Regions from separate parts of the Homo sapiens genome. Here region 1 is linked to region 2. The links are contacts of gene promoters, found by promoter capture Hi-C in blood cells and fetal thymus (Javierre and others, 2016). All regions are on one chromosome and are shown on one strand. Each heading gives the region's core, a stretch centred on a gene start or on the middle of the fragment in contact. The rest is flanking DNA. Distances are from core to core; before and after follow the strand shown.

Region 1 (2,937 bases), core at 35-2,534, 1.0 Mb before region 2:
AGATGGCCTGGCTTGGCGCGGTGGCTGACGCCTGTAATCCCAGCACGTGGGGAGGCCGAGGGGGGCAGATCACGAGGTCAGGAGTTCGAGACCAGCCTGGCCAACATGGTGAAACCTCATCTCTACTAAAAATACGAAAAGTAGCCGGGTGTGATGGCGGGCGCCTGTAATCCCAGCTACTCCAGAGGTTGAGGCAGGAGAATCACTTCAACCCGGGAGGCGGAGGTTGCAGTGAGCAGTGATCGCGCCACTGTACTCCAGACTGGGTGACAGAGCAAGACCCCCTCCGGAAAAAAAAAAAAAAGGGTGGCCTGGTTGAAGCCAGTCTTCTACAGGGAATGTGCTGTTGCTACTCTGGGTCAGTAGTGTCCGGATTGGGACGTGACGCGCCCAAGATTTGTTACTACTTTGGATGAAGTGGGGACCGCCCCACTCTTCCTCTCCCTCCTTTTCTTTTTCCGTTCCCTCCCTCCCTCTCCCTTTCTTCCCCCCTCTGGTATTTTTTAACCAAATAGAAGGAGTCAAGTTTAAACCATCATTAACTAACTTTGCCTAATTTCCTAAAGTTAAGAATTACTTTTTTTTTTTGCGCTACTTATGGCTCTGATTAATCTTTTAATTTCAGATGTCAGTTGCTTAGTTTCAAAACTGTTGAGCCACATGTATGTTATTCACCAATTAGAAGTTGAACTGTAGTCGGGTAGTGAAAAATATTTCTTTCAAAATTTAGGTGGGGGCTGCTGCAGTGCCAGTTGGCAGTGTGCCAGCAAGGAGCCCTTAAGCCCTCCATGCTTTTTCCTCTGACTGGGGGGACTTATTTACCTGTATCACTTCATGTGCGGTGTCCTGCATTTCTAGCACTCTCTAGTGGCCCAGTTAAGGAAGAGTTGGTTTGGGAAATAGTTTAACAAACCTGATGATTAACAGTTGGACAATCTGCATAGGATTTCCATCAGATCTGTAAGCTTAGGACATTTTGTTTTTTAAATTTTATTTTATTAAAAATTATTTTTTGTAGAGACAGAGTCTTGCTCTGTTACCCAGGATGGAGTGCAATGGTCTGGTCAGTGATCACTGCAGCCTCAGATTCCTGGACTCCAGCCTCTCCTGAGTAGCTGGGACTACGGGCGTGTGTCACCACGACCGGCTAATATTTGTAGAGACAGTGTCTCACTATATTGCACAGGCTGGTCTTGAACTCCTGGACTCAAGCCATCCTCCTGTCTCCCAGAGTGCTGGGATTACAGGCCAGAGCCACTGAGCCCAGCCATATTTTTGGTTTTAATGATATGAACTTGACTGTAAAAGTACTTTAAGCTGATGATTGTGCCACTGTACTCCAGCCTGGACAACAAAACCTATCTCAAAACAAACTTCAACTTGAATTATAATCTTTGTAAACAAACAAAGGTACTTTTTGAGATGGACATCTCAGGTACAGTTTAAAGAAATGAATCCCTGAATGAATAGGAATTACGAGTTTTGTTATCTAAGGACAGATGGATTATGCATTTTGTACCCAAACTTTGATTCTTCTTTTAACAGGCAGAACATGACAAAAACATGACCAGGCTTGATAAATTTCTGTCCAAAAGAAGCTTGAATTGCAGTAAAACTCTGTTTTTTGAGATGGGGTTTTCACTCTTTTTGCCCAGGCTGGAGGGCAATGGCGTGATCTCGGCTCACCACAGCCTCCCCCTCCAGGGTTTAAGTGATTCTCCCAAGTAGCTGGGATTACAGGCATGCGCCACCATGCCTGGCTAATTTTGTATTTTTCGTAGAGATGGGGTTTCTTCATGTTGGTCAGACTGGTCTCGAACTCCCAACCTCAGGTGATCCGCCCATCTTGGCCTCCCAAAGTGCTGGGATTACAGGCATGAGCCACCGCGCCTGGCCCGAATTGCCATAAAACTCTTGTATTGCAGACTATAAAAATATTTCTGCCGGGCATGGTGGCTCACGCCTGTAATCCCAGCACGTTGGGAGGCCGAGGCGGGCGGATCACGAGGTCAGGAGATCGAGACCATCCTGGCTAACACGGTGAAACCATGTCTTTACTAAAAATACACAAAATTAGCTGGGCATGGTGGCACGCGCCTGTAATCCCAGCTACTCGTGAGGCTGGGGCAGGAGAATCGCTTGAACCAGGGAGGCGGAGGTTGCAGTGAGCCGAGATCGCACCACTGCACTCCAGCCTGGGCGACAGAGCGAGACCGTCTCAAAAAAAAAGAAAAAAACTATTTCCATGATTTAGGACTGGCACGACCACAGTGGCGTCTCCTTTGTGTTTTTGGTGTGTGTTAAATATAACAAATTTCTTACCATTTCAGGGTTTGTCTGTAAAGATAGGAACTGGCAGGAAGTGATTATGATTTAACATTCTACATTATATTTTGAATATAGACACTTTGGAGAACAGGTAATGTTTTTAAAACCATTTCTCTCTTTGAATCTAAAATTTTATGGCACTGTGTCCTCAAAACACTTTTTTAAATTTTTTATTTTTTATGTATTTTTTTTTTTTTTGAGACAGGGTCTGTCTCTCACTCAGGCTGGAGTGCAGTGGTATGATCATGGCTCACTGCAGCCTCGAGTTCCTGGGGTCCAGTGATCCTCCTGCCTCAGCCTCCCAAGTAGCTGGGACTACAGGCATGCGCCACCGCACCTGGCTAATTTTTGTATTTTTGGTAGCCATGAGTTTTGCCATGTTGCCCAGGCTGGTCTTGAACTTCTGAGCTAAGTGATCCTCTCTCCTTGGCCTCCCAAAGTGCTGGCATTACAGGCATGAGCCACCTCTCCCAGCCATCCAACAATGCCTCAGTCTGTCTTTACTGGCTCAGCCAGGTGCTGGGATGGTGGTGAGCACATTGTAGAGAGCTCTCATTACTTGTTTTTATTTTCATAGTCTAGCTCATTTTCCTGATACGTGCTATTGTA
Region 2 (3,417 bases), core at 301-2,800:
ATTTGGGCAAAAAACCCAACACCCACCCTTGACTTTTTAAACTCTTAGTAATTAGGCATAAACAGAAATGTACTTAATGTGATAGAATACACTCGGTGAAGATACAGAGGGAATGCTCCCTAAAACCAAGCCCAAGACAAAGATTCCTATTTAACCTCAATAGTCAACACTGCAGCGAGAGTAATCTATGGAAGACAAGGAAAAAAGTAAAAACATGAGAGACATCTGTTGTTTAACAGACAATAAGATCACCTACTTGGAAGAGGCAAACGAATCAAGCGAAAAACTATTAAAACTGAGACAGGCTTTAGTATGGAGGCTCAGCTTCAGCTGTAGTTTGGGCTACCAAATTCAACTCGCTTGCTTGGAGAGTTAATCCTGCAAAGCTAATTTCTGTTGAGGTATTAGGATTGACAAGCCTGTGCTCCTCCCTCCTCCCCCATCTTCAACACTGAAATAACACGGTGTTTGGAACTGGATAACAGAATCTTCCAAAAACAAAAATTGTCCTGAAGGGCTGACTTGTGCCCTTACTCAAAAAACACTTTATCTGCTGCCTGCAGCTCCTACAGTTGCTGGTGGATAAGCCTGCCAACCAGCTCGGCGTAATTCTTCCTGCAGAGGGCAAGGAAGAGCACTTTCACAGGAAAATTTTTTTCCGAACTGTATGCCGCTTATTACATAAACTTACGTGCTGGCAAATGGAGCTCCAGCAAAATAAGATATTCAGAGTCAAACTTCCTTAGGAAAAAAAAAAAAAAAAAGCAAGCACATAACACTAATTTCCTTGCATGGGCACTGGGGAAGGAGGTCGTTACTTCCGCACGCCCGCAGGTCCGCACCACCGGGAAACCCACGGGCACCGCGCGCTGCCCCCGGGCCTTCCAGGTGCACTGCGCCGCGGCGCCCCAGCTGACCCGGGATGCGCAGCCCTAGCCCTTCCCCTGTCACCCCGGCCAGGAAGGGGCGGGAGCGCGGCGGACGCCGAGGGCGAAGGGCTTCTCGGTCCTCTGCACCACGCAGCACCCCCAAGGCACAACAGGGAGGGTGCGGGAGGCTCCCGAGACCCAGGAGCCGGGGCCGGGCGTGCCCGCGCACCTGTCCCACTGCGGCGAGGGCTGGGGTCGCCTCCAGGGCCGCAGCTGTCGGGAGCCACCTGGCTCTCAGTCCCGGGTCCCTGCGACAACCCTCGGGCCCGGAGGGGAGGAGGCGGCCACCTGCCGCTGCCACCTGCGGCACCGGTCCCACCGCTCCGGGCCGGGCAGGACAGGCCAGGACGTCCCTCCTGGGCTGGGGACAGGACACGCGACGAGGGGACCGGGGCCCCCGCGGCGAAGACGCAGCACGCCTTCCCAGAAAGGCAGTCCCGTGCCCCCACGACGGACTGCCGGACCCCCGCGCTCGCCCGCCCATCCCTTCAGACCACGCGGCTGAGGCGCAAAGAGCCGGCCGGCGGGCGGGCTGGCGGCGCGGCTAGTACTCACCGGCCCCGCTGGCTCAGCGCCGCCGCAACCCCCAGCGGCCACGGCTCCGGGCGCTCACTGATGCTCAGGAGAGGGACCCGCGCTCCGCCGGCGCCTCCAGCCATCGCCGCCAGGGGGCGAGCGCGAGCCGCGCGGGGCTCGCTGGGAGATGTAGTACCCGGACCGCCGCCTGCGCCGTCCTCCTTCAGCCGGCGGCCGGGGGCCCCCTCTCTCCCAGCTCTCAGTGTCTCATCTCCCTATCTGCTCATCCTCTGGTCGCACATAATCGATGTTTGGGCGTCCCAAGCCAGATGTGGACCCCATTTCCGCACTCTACACTGGAGGTTTTCTAAGGGTGGTGCCCGGACCAGCAGCTTCAGCCTCATCTGGGAACTTGAGAAAATGCAGATTCTCCGTCCCACCCAGCCTATTCGGTTTTTCCTGCACTAAAACCATGAAGGTGGGGCCCAGCAGTCCACATTCTCGCAAGCCCGTCAAGTGATTCTGAGGCGCCCTCCAGTTTGAGAGCTATGCTCACGGCCTCACCTCCGCCCCGCAAGGAGCCCGGTCTTGCCTGTGGCGCTAGCCGCACACGGACACCTCATCCTGCGGGGCCCGCCCCCCCGCTGCACCCTCACCGCCCAACGCCTCCTCCGGGATGCAGCGGAGGCGCCTGGAAGTCGGCAAGGTCAACATCCCCCTCAGCATCTTCCCTACCCTCACGGCTCCTCCTCCAGGGGTGCCTCATGGCCAGGGGTTAGAAAGAGCCACTGTGTTTCTTGACATGGAAGTGGCCTAAGACCTTAATGAAAACTGCAGGAGTGGAATGACAGAACCTTTGGTCATACTTGAGGGCGTGAAGCTCAAATGAGGAGGAAGGAAAGGATCCAGGGAGAATAACCAACCCTGGCAAGTTGTGGCGCCCAGGTAGAGGGGCGAGCCTAGGCTAGCGGTTCTCGACCAGGGCCGGTGTTGCCCCTCCTCGCCGCCCCGCGTACATTTGGGGAGGTCTGGAGACATTTTTGGTTGTCATGATGCGGGAGTTGCTACTGTTGCCTAAGTGGGTAGACACGAGGGTGCTCCTCAACATCCTACCTGAAGGACAGGACTGCCCCACAAGGAAGAATGATCCGGCCCCAAATAAGAAACCCTGGGCTGGTCAGCAACAACCCCTTTGTTCTGAGAAGAGAGGAGGAAAGAATAAAAGAAGTGGGGTGAAGTTTTGGTTTGGTAGAGGAAACTTGAAGACATTTTCACTGGAAAGGAAGAGAGGAAGAGGAGGGAGATGTCTGTAAGGACGAGCAAACCGGGTGACAGCTGATTTCCTCATATTGAAGTAATGAGTCCTAGTTATAATAAATTCCTAATAAAAACCCAGTTTATCCCTGCAATAAACTTGTCTTTTTTTTTTAAATATACTGCTTGATTCTGTTTGCTAATATTTTATTTACAGGCTTTGCATTGATATGCAAAAATGAGATGGGCAATAATTTTCTTTTTGAATGTCTAATGTTGTTTGGTTTCAGAATCAATGTTATGCTCACATCATAAAAAATTTGGAACCGAGGCAGGAGGAGTGCTTGAGGCCAGAAGTTCGAGACCAGTCTAGGAAACACAGTGAGACCCCCCCATCTCTACAAAAAAAAAAAAAGAAAAAAAAATGGGCATGTTTGCTTTTTCCTTTTACTCTGAACAATTTAAGGAGCATTAAAATTATCTATTCTTTGAGGTTTGATCATTTCCCAGTTAAAAATGTTCCTCCCAGCCTGATGCTTTCTTTGGGGAGGGTAAATCTTTTAAGGCTAGAAAAGTTTCTTCTGTGGCAATTTTATTATTTACATTTTAAAAATTATTCTAGAGTTAATTTTGATAAAGCATGTATTTCTTAAAACAAATTATCCTTTTTTTCCAGATGTTCAAGTGTATTTGCATAAAGTTGAGGAAAGTAGTCTTT

The links. Contacts are between HindIII fragments. The CHiCAGO score rates a contact against its expected background, and 5 or more counts as called.
Region 1: a contact is called between a fragment that was not itself captured here and the fragment with the promoter of SPECC1 in region 2, in 1 of 17 cell types (erythroblasts). The highest score is 5.1, in erythroblasts.

Annotation. Positions count from the first base shown.
Region 1 is chr17:21,038,255-21,041,191 of GRCh38, reverse strand. The region is part of intron 1 of USP22 (ubiquitin specific peptidase 22); the gene reads left to right. Among named protein-coding and RNA genes, the nearest start is that of USP22, 3.3 kb to the left of the region's middle. The HindIII fragment of the contact is 633 bases long and covers 968-1,600 here.
Region 2 is chr17:20,007,492-20,010,908 of GRCh38, reverse strand. It overlaps SPECC1 (sperm antigen with calponin homology and coiled-coil domains 1), which reads right to left and starts at 1,550. Exons shown (of 15, transcript NM_001243439.2): 1 at 1,485-1,550. It overlaps SPECC1-DT (SPECC1 divergent transcript), which reads left to right and starts at 1,649. Exons shown (of 1, transcript NR_186461.1): 1 at 1,649-2,854. RefSeq lists silencers at 879-1,058, 1,079-1,748 and an enhancer at 2,181-2,748. The HindIII fragment of the contact is 26,343 bases long and covers 1-3,417 here.